Regions from separate parts of the Homo sapiens genome. Here regions 2, 3 and 4 are each linked to region 1. The links are contacts of gene promoters, found by promoter capture Hi-C in blood cells and fetal thymus (Javierre and others, 2016). All regions are on one chromosome and are shown on one strand. Each heading gives the region's core, a stretch centred on a gene start or on the middle of the fragment in contact. The rest is flanking DNA. Distances are from core to core; before and after follow the strand shown. Region 1 holds the start of ZNF471 (zinc finger protein 471). Region 2 has its middle 9.1 kb from the start of ZSCAN18. Region 3 holds the start of ZNF8 (zinc finger protein 8). Region 4 holds the start of ZNF135 (zinc finger protein 135).

Evidence for each region. The method cuts DNA at HindIII sites, captures the fragments that hold promoters and counts their contacts. A CHiCAGO score of 5 or more calls a contact.
Region 2: a contact is called between a fragment that was not itself captured here and the fragment with the promoter of ZNF471 in region 1, in 2 of 17 cell types (erythroblasts and activated CD4 T cells). The highest score is 5.8, in erythroblasts.
Region 3: a contact is called between the fragment with the promoter of ZNF8 here and the fragment with the promoter of ZNF471 in region 1, in 1 of 17 cell types (M1 macrophages). The highest score is 5.2, in M1 macrophages.
Region 4: a contact is called between the fragment with the promoter of ZNF135 here and the fragment with the promoter of ZNF471 in region 1, in 2 of 17 cell types (activated CD4 T cells and non-activated CD4 T cells). The highest score is 6.6, in activated CD4 T cells.

What each region holds. Positions count from the first base shown.
Region 1 is chr19:56,506,568-56,509,267 of GRCh38, reverse strand. It overlaps ZNF471 (zinc finger protein 471), which reads right to left and starts at 1,413. Exons shown (of 5, transcript NM_020813.4): 1 at 1,348-1,413. The HindIII fragment of the contact is 1,838 bases long and covers 3-1,840 here.
Region 2 is chr19:58,106,004-58,108,703 of GRCh38, reverse strand. It overlaps a transcript of ZSCAN18 not described here. Among named protein-coding and RNA genes, the nearest start is that of ZSCAN18, 9.1 kb to the right of the region's middle. The HindIII fragment of the contact is 4,764 bases long and covers 1-2,700 here.
Region 3 is chr19:58,277,705-58,280,404 of GRCh38, reverse strand. It overlaps ZNF8 (zinc finger protein 8), which reads right to left and starts at 1,450. Exons shown (of 4, transcript NM_021089.3): 1 at 1,258-1,450. The coding sequence starts at 1,323. It overlaps ZNF8-DT (ZNF8 divergent transcript), which reads left to right and starts at 1,663. Exons shown (of 3, transcript NR_187495.1): 1 at 1,663-1,882. ZNF8-ERVK3-1 (ZNF8-ERVK3-1 readthrough (NMD candidate)) reads right to left here and starts at 1,439. Exons shown (of 7, transcript NR_144447.1): 1 at 1-1,439. RefSeq lists enhancers at 855-904, 1,325-1,374. The HindIII fragment of the contact is 22,069 bases long and covers 1-2,700 here.
Region 4 is chr19:58,057,950-58,060,649 of GRCh38, reverse strand. ZNF135 (zinc finger protein 135) reads right to left here and starts at 1,368. Exons shown (of 5, transcript NM_001289401.2): 1 at 1,340-1,368; 2 at 615-681. The coding sequence starts at 647. The HindIII fragment of the contact is 3,956 bases long and covers 1-2,370 here.

The DNA.
Region 1 (2,700 bases), core at 164-2,663:
CTTCATAATGTAGGCATGACTGGTTAAATCACTGACCACTGATGATCAGTTTAACCTGTGGCTCCCTTTCCTTTCCCTGGAGATTGAGGGATGGGGCAGGTAATCCCAACCCTCTAATCCTGCCTAGATTGTTCTTGTGACCATCCCTTACCGTGATCAACCTACAGGCTGCCAGCCCACCAATCATTAGCATGCAAAAAGACACTTAATACTTTGGAGATTCCAAGGATCTTAGAAGTCGTAAGCCAGGAAACATAACTTTGTCCTATACTTTGATCGCCTCCCTCTCTCTCACAAACTCATAACAACATAACCTAGTCTCACTCTTTGGACTCTCACAGTTTAGTCTCTTTCTCTCTCTCATACACACACACCAGCCTCTCAAGGAGCCTCACATAATGACTGGTCTTTCACACACAGCCACGTGCTCATCTCTCTCACACTCACTGGTCTCACGCTATGTTGTCTCTCACACACGAACACACCCTGGTCTCACACTCTGGTCTCTCTCAGTCTGTCAGACACACATAACACGGCCTCACACACTGACGGGTCTTTCACCCAAAACACCCATTTCTCACACTCACTGGTCTCCCTTTCACACATTAACATACCACAGTCTCACACTCTGTTCTTGCACAGTCTAGTCTCGCATACATGGTGATTCTTCTCTCTCTCGAACACACACCGGCCTCTCATTGAGCCTCACCCACCGACCGACCGGCCTTTCACACACAGGCACACGCCCATCTCTCACACTCACTGGTCTCTCACACTCCATCCAGCCCGTCTCACTCTCTCACACGAATACATCCTGGTCTCACGCTCTGGACACCTGGTCTGTTACACACTTACACACCCACACACCTCGCAACCTCTCACTGAGCTTCACACGCTCTCTTTCAAATGCAGGCACATCCCTATCTCTCTCACACTCACTGGTCTCTCACACTGGCCCGTCTCGCTCTGTCACACACGAACATACCCTGGTCTCACACTGGACTCTCGGTCTGTCACACACACACACACACACACACAGAAACCACACCCTCTCACGGAGCCTCACACTCTGACAGATCTTTTACACACAGGCACACCCCCATCTCTCCCACAGCTCACTCCAGTGGTCCCGCCGCCCCAAGCCGCCCCGAACGCCCAGCAGCCCCGAGCCGCGGCCTCCGCCCCGCAGACTCGAGTACGCGCGCCCCGCTGGCCTCTGGGAAATGTAGTCGTCCTGGGGACAGAGGACGCGGCTGGGCCTTCGCGACCCGCGTCGGAGCCGCCCGCCTCGCCTGCCCTTCCTGGCCCAGCCCTCGAGCTCGGACTCCCAAACCACCCAAAACAAACCCCCGGCCTCGTCTGGCACCCAGACGCTCTCATCCGAAGGACTCCGTGAGTCGACGCTGGAACCCCCCATCGCGCAGGCGCCAGCCTCTCTCCAGGGGTCGGACGAGAGGGGCGGAGACAAGGCGTGGCCTAGTGTTGAGGGGATTGTCCTCGGGCTGCTGAAGGAGTGAGAGGGACCTTAGAGCAGAGCGGGCGGTGCCTGCGCAGTGCGTGATTACGCGAGCCGGGCGTGGCCCAGGGTTCCGGCGGGTAAGAGCAGGAGTGTGCGCAGGCGCAAAGATTGCGCTCTCCCCCTCTCCTCGCCTAGAGACCAGAAGCGTCCCTAGTTACTAGTTCCTGGGGCCTGGGAGGGAAACGCGCGACGGCTGAGCCTTCGGTGTGAGTACGCGTGGGGCTTTGTGACGCTGTCTGTGCCTCTGTGATCGCGATGTCATTCGGAGCGCGGCCTTCTGTGCCAGTCCGTGGGAGTGTCATTATCTTTCTGTGTTAAGCTTATTTTGGAATAAGACAGCGACGAGGAACCCCGACCGTGTTGTGACTCTGGCGAATTAATACCTCTTTCAGCTGCAAATGGGAATGTCACTGATCAGAGGCAGTGAATAACACGACGTTTTTGGAACCAATCTGCTAGGCTTGAACCGCGTTCAGCCCCTTAACAAAATGGAAATGGTCCCCGTTTTAGGGGACTAGCCCTGACTAGGAGAACTGTAGAATTAGTATTGGAAGGTGAGACAAATAAGGAAAAGCAATTCAGGGGGATACAGCAGAGAAAAAAAAATCCCTGTCCTCTTATTATGTAATTTACTTTGAAGCGGAGAGAGACAAGCCACAAATTCATGAGTTAGATAAACAGTCTGATGAACAGTAAAAAGGGCTATGGAGAAATATAACTCAGAGAAGGTTGTATCGTATACATTTTTTCTATTGTCTCTTATAATGTCTTAACATGTCAAAAAAACCTGTCTGCAGCAGACACCAGCCAGGTGACCGCTACTCCAATTCAATTCTGACGCTACCTGGAAAACATCAGATCCTACAGGTTAGACAGCTCAGTCCCAAAAGACTGTCCCCCACTTCCCATGCCAATTCCAAACTCCAGATTGTTGTACCTGTGTTTCAGAGAGATGTGCTATAAATTGGGGCTCCCACAGCCGGCTCCTTGGGTTCCATTAGTTTGCTAGAGCAGCTCACAGAACTCAAGGAAACACTTATGTTTACTGGTTTATTATAAAAGATATTTTAAAGGATACAAATAGCCAGATGAAGAGACATGTAGGGCAAGGTCCGAGAGAATCCCTAGTGCAGGAACTTCTGTGCCCGTGGAGTTGGGGTGCACCACCCTCCCAGCACGAG
Region 2 (2,700 bases), core at 83-2,582, 1.6 Mb before region 1:
ACAATGGAAGTATCTCTGGAAATGAATACAATGACAGTGAATGTGGACTGTCCGTTAGACCGAAATCTCATTTCATCAGTCACCAGAGGACTCATACTGGAGAGAGCCCTTATACCTGTAATGACTGTGGAAAATCCCTCTCTAAGAATTACAACCTGATTGTACATCAAAAAATCCACACAGGAGAGAAATCCTATAAATGCAAGAAGTGGGAAAGCCTTCAGTGCTGGCTCCACCTTTACCAAGCATGAGAAAACCCACATAGGAAAGAAGCCCTGTGAAAGGAATTGGTATGGGAAGACCTTCAGCTGCCACTCTTCCCTTGTTTTGCATTTCAGAAGTCATACTGTGGAAAAACTATTCGAATGTAATGAATGTGAAAAATCCTTTTCTGATGTCTCCAACCTTATTGTCCATCTGAGAATTCACATGTGAGGGGAGCCCTATGTATGTACTGGGTGTAGAAAGGCCTTCATTGATCACACATAACTTATTAAACATGGGAGAATTCACATTGGAAAGAGACCCTATATGTGTATGGAGTGTGAAAAATTCTCCAACCACAACAGTCAGCTCTTTTGCATCAAAAAAATCATTCTGGAAAGAAATCTCATGAGTTAAACAATGTGAAAAAATCTTTCACTGAGATTATGTACCTCATCAGGCACAAGAGGATTCATACTGGTGAGAAGGTCTGTGGCTGTAACCAGTGTCAAACTTTTCAGGAACATCGCGGGCCTCATCTGGCACCAGAGGACTCATACTGGTGAGAAGCCCTACGAGTGTAATCGGTGTGGCAAAGCCTTCAGGGACAGCTCCTGTCTGACCAAGCACAAGAAGGTACATGCTCAGGCGACCTTGTGCCAGTGTGTCTAGTGTGGGAAAGTTTTCCCAAGTATCTGTGCTCTCGCTAGAAACCAGAGTTGACACATTGGACTGAGACCTATGGGGATTCAGTGAGCATCTGTGGCAGTGACTGATCTGATTTTCTTTGCCTCCTCTTTGTCAGAGACTTCATGTTGAAGAGTTTATGTTGTTTGAAAGTAACAAATATGTTTTTCCATCTATAAATGGAAGAAAAAATCCTGGATGACAGCACATGTGTTTACCGCATGGTGCACTCAATATTTTATTTTATTTTTGAGACAGAGTTTCACTCTTGTCACCCAGGCTGCAGTGCAGTAGTGTGATCTCAGCTCCCTGCAGCCTCTGCCTCTTGGGTTCAAGCGATTCTCCTTCCTCAAACTCCTGAGCAAGTAGCTGGGATTACAGGTACCCACCATCACACTAATTGTTTTGTATTTTTTTTAGTAGAGATAGGGTTTCACCATGTTGGTCAGGCTGGTCTTGAACTCCTGACCTGAAGTGATCTGCCCACCTTGGCCTCCCAAAAGTGATGAGATTACAGGCATGAGCCACCATGCCCGGCCTGTGCTGAATATTTTAAACCCACTGTTGAGACTTCCTCAGAATAAAGATTCCTTTCAAAATATGGCTGCTTGTTGACAAGAGCTGTGATGAAGATGTACAGGGAGATGAATGTTGTTCTCACACCTGCTAACACAACATGTATTCTGCAGCCCATCATAGATCAGGAGTAATTTTGACTTTCCAGTCTCATTATTCAAGAACAGATGTCTTGGCCAGGCACGGTGGCTCACGCCTGTAATCCCAGCACTTTGGGAGGCCAAGGTGGGCAGATCACGAGGTCAGGATTTCGAGACAAGCCTGACCAACATGCTGAAACCTCATCTCTACTAAAAATACAAAAAAAAATTAGCCAGGCGTGATGGTGCACACCTGTAATCCCAGCTACTCAGGAGACTGAGGCAGGAGAATTGCCTGAAGCTGGGAGGCAGAGGTTGCAGTGAGCAGAGATCGAGCCACTGCACTGCAGCCTGGGAAACAGAAGGAGGCTCCATTTCAAAAAAAAACAAAAAAACAAAAAAAACAGATGTCTTTTTTTCTTTCTTTCTTTTTTTTTTTTTTTTTTTTTTTTTGAGACGGAGTCTCGCTCTGTCGCCCAGGCTGGAGTGCAGTGGCGGGATCTCGGCTCACTGCAAGCTCCGCCTCCCGGGTTCACGCCATTCTCCTGCCTCAGCCTCCCAAGTAGCTGGGACTACAGGCGCCCGCCACTACGCCCGGCTAATTTTTTTTGTATTTTTAGTAGAGACGGGGTTTCACCGTTTTAGCCGGGATGGTCTCGATCTCCTGACCTCGTGATCCGCCCGCCTCGGCCTCCCAAAGTGCTGGGATTACAGGCGTGAGCCACCGCGCCCAGCCAGATGTCTTTTTTTCTTTTGAGACATGGTCTCATTCTGTTGCCCAGGTTGGAGTGCAGTGCTGCAACCATGGCTCGCTGCAGCCTCGACCTCTAGGCTCAAGTTGTCCTCTCACCTTAGCCTCCTACATAGCTGGAACTACCAGCATGCACCACCACGCCTGGCTAATTTTTTTTATGTTTTGTAGAGACGGCATCTCACCATATTGCTCAAGCTGGTCTTGAACTCCTGTGCCGAAGTGATCCTCTTGCCTCATCCTGACAAAGTGCTAGTATTACAGGTGTGAGCCATTGTGCCTGGCCTAGAATGCTCTTAATGGCATCTAGCATAGTGAATCATTTCCAGAAGGTTTTTAATTTACTTTCCCTGGATCCATCCAAGGAATCATTACTATCTATGGCAGCTATAGCCTTACAAA
Region 3 (2,700 bases), core at 201-2,700, 1.8 Mb before region 1:
TGCCCTCTCCTGGATCACTTGTTCTGTGGGAAGCCAGATGCCATGTTGCAAGGATCCCTAGCAGTTCCAAAGAGAGGCCTACATGGAGAACAACTGAGGTCTCCTATCAACAGACATGTGAGTGAGCCATCCTGGAGGTGGATCCTCCAGACTCAGGTCTCAGGTGACAACAGCTATGCTGACATCTTCACTGTAACTTCATGGGCCTGAACCAGAACCACCAGCTAGGACATTCCATTACTCCTGTCAGAACTCGTGAGATATTTATTGTTGTTCCAGGTCACGAAGTTTTGAGTTACACAGCAACAGGTAACTAATACACTTTCTCTCAAGCCTTTCTTACGACTCATTCCTTGTCCCCCATCCACAGCAAGAACAAAATAAAACGTGGTAGCATTTCATGCAAATTTGGAGCAACACACATCTGAAAACCTGCAACCTAAGATTATCAAGTCTCACTTTGTGTACCAAATCTGAAATAATGCAAATCCCCATGAACAAACCAACGACAAAAAATAAAAAAAAGTATAATTTCAAAGTTGCAGAGCTTGAGGAAGGATAATTATTGTTGTTTCCTGCCACGCGAGGCAGCTTTATGGAGAACACAGGCCGCAACCACTTTGTCTAGAAAGTGGAGCTCTGATGGCCAGATGGCCCTGCAAACACTGACCGCCCTGCACTGCAGTTCTCCCACAGTCTCGCAGGGGACGACCCTGGTGGTCACTCTCATCACACTCAGTGCGTGGTGACCCATCATTGCCCCCAAGAGGTTGTGCCCAAGCCCCAGGGCAGGGGCTCCGCGGTGCTGGGGTCCCGGTGGGTGTCCGCTGACTCCACGCGTTAAAGCATCTCTATTCGATGATTCTTGCCATCTGGGCACCCGGCCAACGCTACAATTACTGTTATCAGTCAACACGAGGACAGACCTTCCTGGAATGGGCAAGGGTGTCGGCGGGGCGGAGCAGAACGCAGGAGATGGGCCTGCTCGATTCTCTCGGGAATGACCGACCCCAGCCCTGGGGAGGACAGAGCCGCGTGGAGCATGCGCATTCGGGGGCCAGGCGCCTGGTTGGAATCCCGGCCCCCTCTCTGACCAGCCAGGACGGTCACCACGCCCCGACCCGCGTCTGAGTTTCCCCACGTGTCAAGGGCATTAACAGCGGTGCCGCTCTCATCGCGCCGCGAGGTGAAAGGGTCAGTCTGCGCGGGAGACGCTTGCCCGGAGCCCGCCGCCGTCGTTATTGTTGTTATTGTTACCTGAAGCCGGGCCGCCGGCGGCCCCACAGACATCACTCCCGCTACCCCTTCGTCCTCGGGGTCCATGCTGGATCGCCCAGTGAAGGACAGCGCCTGAGGTGATCCCCAGACCAGAGAGGCACTCCAGCCAAAGGGACCACCCGACTCGCCGAACGCCGGACAATGGCGGCCGCACCGGCGACGCGGCGACTACAACTCCCAGTAGGCCGTGCGGCGAACCACAGCCCTCGGCCAATGGGAGTCTCCGCTGGTCTGGCCTTCGACCAATGGAAGCATTATGGCCGATGGCCAATGGGAGCCCCCACCCGCTGGCCTCTGGCCAATGGGAGCACTCAGCTAAGGCTGGTGGGGGCGGTGTTGCTCGGGGCTGCGATGCCCCTTAGGTTGCGGGCAACCAGAGGCCTCACTCGTGGGCAGGAAGCAAGGGCGGACCCCGAGAGATGACTGATTGTGGGGGTGGGGACCGTCTGCTCCTCCTAATGGCTGGGGACCGTGCACGTCTGCGCGGGCCGGACCTGCTCTTCTCGGGAACTTGCGCGGGAGGAGGCCCGGAGCTGCGCCGCTTTACCCTCTGCTCCCCGGTGCCTAAAACGCACACGCATCAAAGTCACAGGACGAGTTAGAGGTTTGTTCATATAAAAGACTTTGGGCTTAGCGGCTGGAAGCGGGGAGGCTGGGAGCGGTGGTTGTGTTACAGGAAAGGGGTCCGATTCAGACCCCAAGGGAGGGTTCTTGGATCTCGCGCAAGAAAAAATTCAGGGCGAGTCCGCAGTGCAAAGTAAAAGCAAGTTTGTTGAGAAAGTAAAGTTGTGAAACAGCTACCCCATAGACAGTAGGACGTTCCTGAAAGTAAGAGGAACGTATGCACCCTAGGTACAATGCTTGTGTATATTTGGGCTAAAAATAGATTTTGGGGAGATGTGCTCTGCTACAAGGGTTTGTGAAAAAGGATTAATTTTCTTACTGTATTTTTCAAGAATCGATATTATTTTTAAAGCAAAATTAGGAATGCCTTTGTTCTCTAGATACCGGGATATCTGGACACTCCCAAGTCTGGGTCTGTTTTAGTACCCATTATTAATTTGTTCCCTTAACCGTAAACATCTAGAGGTTAGGAATACCTACTTTTCTGGGAATGCAGCCCAGCCTCATTTTCCTAGCCCTCACTCAAAATGGAGTCGCTCTGGGTCGAATGCCTCTGACAGCCCTATTGCTTCTCCCTGTGGGTGTTCACTTTGTGATGTGTCTTTTTCTGTGGGTCTGTTGTAGTCCATTAAAATGTTTATTAAAGGTCGGGCGCGGTGGCTAACGCCTATAATCCCAGCACTTTGGGAAGTCGAGGCGGGTGGATCACGATGTCAGGAGCTCGAGACCAACCTGGCCAATATGGTGAAACCCCGTCTCTACTAAAAATACAAAAATTAGCCCGGCGTGGTGGCGGGC
Region 4 (2,700 bases), core at 119-2,618, 1.6 Mb before region 1:
GGTTTCTTCTGGTGGCTTATGGGTGGGGTTAATGTCATCATAAAAAGGCGAGTTCCGCCCCCTTGGCCTCCATGACGTCTGAGGAAGCGGCACTCGATGCGCCATCTTGGAGCGCAGAGCATGCTAAGGCCTTCAACTTCAGACTGCAGAGCCGGGGCACCTACAATTTTCTGACATCACCCAGCCTCAGGTATGCAATGACGGCCGCACAAACATAAAGCCCACTCAGACAGGGACCCGTGCCCGCTGACCTCCAGCGCGGCGTGGGCGGTCCTTTCAGAGGCAGGCTGTGGTTGGGGAGCTTGGCGCGGACTTTAGGAGGCCGGGTGTGCAGGTAGAGGCCGGACACGAGTAGAGGCTAGATGTGCAAATAGAGGCCGGGCACGAGTAGAGGCCGGGCACCAGTAGAGGCCAGGTGCGCGAGTAGAGGCCAGTTGTGCGAGTAGAGGCCGGGCACGAGTAGGGGCCGGGCACGCAAGTAGGGGCCGGGCACAAGGAGGAGGCTGAGCGCGAGTAGGGACGGGGTGCAAAGAGGAGGCCGGGCGTGAGAAGGCCGCGCGCGAGGAGGCCGGGCACGAGGTGGAGGACACGCGCAAGGAGGCCGAGATTCTCACCGGGTCTGTGGAGACGCGCACCCCAGGGGTCATGCCCTGGCTTCTGGCAGGAACGGCTGGCCCTGCTCTGTGGGAAAGGGGAGGTGAGCAGCTGGGGCAGGCAGAGGCGGTGCTCAGGTCCCCAAGCCGGGGAACTGCGCCAGAGCCTGGGGAGCTCCGCGGAGAGCCGTCCAGGGCCCCGCGTACCCGTTTAAGCGCCTGCTGTGTGTGGGGCGGCCCTCCGCTCGGAGAAGGGCAGCCTAGGGTTTTCCCGCCTGTCTGAGGGAAGCTGAAGGCCTGGCGGGTGCGGACACATATCTGCTGCGCAGACTCTGAGCCTTAACGCTACAGTGACAAGGGCCGGGTGGTTGCGGTCCCCTGGCCCTGGGCACTATGCCTCAGTTTCTCTCTTCCATCAACAAAGGTGGCGGCCCAGTGCCCGGTGTGGGGCAGAGGTGGGGCCAGGGGCGGGGCGCGCGTTCCCTCAGGGGCCGTCGGAGCAGCTCCTGTCCAGCTGGGCGTTGGGCCCCGCCCTCCTCTCAGACTAGGGATGCCCCGCAAAGCCTGCCCCCGCCAGCCCCGAAACGGCCTTCCCCAGGCCCCGGGCAGCAAAACGGACTCCACACAGACGCGCGCTGCTGGAAACTCGCCCCGCCAGGGCCTCAGGAAGATCCCCGGACCCCCCGCACCCGGCCCGGCCCGGCCCGGCCTGGCCTCCCCTCCCCCTCCTCGCCGGCCTAGCTCACCCTCCTGACTGCGAGACAAAGGCCGCGGCACCGGCAGCCGACACTGCGCCGGCGCGAGCCTAACTCCATTTCCCAGAGAGCCGCGCGCGCATTTCCGGCCGCCCTCCCCCACCTCGCTCTCGCCCTTGGCGTTCGTGAGCTCTCAGTGCTGCTGGAGCTGGAGTGACTGGGCCTGGTGAAACAGGGCGCGCGGGGTGCCTGGGCATCAACGCGGGATAAGTGCCGCTTGGAACGCCGTGAGCTCCCGGCGCGACCACACGGGCTTTCGTGTTGGAAACTCTACCGTCAGTTTTACTGCTGCAAACAAAGCAATGATTTTTTCAAAACACATACTTTCAACCAAAACATTCACCAAGATCGCACACACGGGAGTCTTTGCATTTTCCACACTGAGGCAGCCATGGAGACTTCACACTGTATTTATTACATGGTTATAAGGAACATCACGTGCAAGACACTAACAATTATGACGACTTTGGACATTGCTAGGTAATTGTCAAAATTGTGCATTTGAACAGCAGCAAAATATTCAAAGCTGGTGTGCCCTCGCTGACACGAAATGAATTGTCATTTTCTGAACATTCACCAAAGCCTGCCAGGCGCTAGGCCTAGGTTCAGCAGCACACAATAGTGAAGCCCCCATTCAAGCGGGCTTCGTTTCACCAGCGTACGTCACACGTCCGTGGAGCAGCGAGACCAGAGGAGCTGGGAAAGCCAGGGCTGAGCCTTGTGCTTTTGCCCTTTTAAGGGAGGACAGATTAATTCCAATCAGCCTGGGCTTGGGAGCTGTATTTGAAGCAGAGGAAAAGTTTTAAGACGGGCATTTTTTTTTCTTTGACTGAAACAACTCTGAAAACAGCAGAGAACACAATACGAATTCTCGTACCACACACAGACACTTGCAAAGATTTGGCTGGTTAACACACAAGTTAAGACTTTAAATTTCATAAGCCCTAAAACAGTGGCAATTATGAAGAGATATAATGGCTCAAAATCATAATGCACTGATGTAAACAAAGCAAAGGCAAGCTTCTTGGCTTTTAAGGGCGTCCTGTACATTCCAAGTACTGTAAAGCCCCACATTTGTGACCGTCGCACTGAAAGCCAGCCTGCTTTTCACTCTACAGCAGTAAAGAGGCTTTCCATTATACATAAAATGCCGTTTTTCAGTTCTCGAACTCACAAACCCAAATGCCACAAAACATCTTTTTGTGTATTTTTTCTTTCACAAAATGTATACTCTTGCCCCCCACCCCCACCCCCAACCGTTTCCTTTTACTGGATCAAAAGGTATGAACACACAACTCATGGTGAAGTCTTTTTCCCAAGCGGTCTGATAGTCCTGGTGAGAAGCTGTCAGT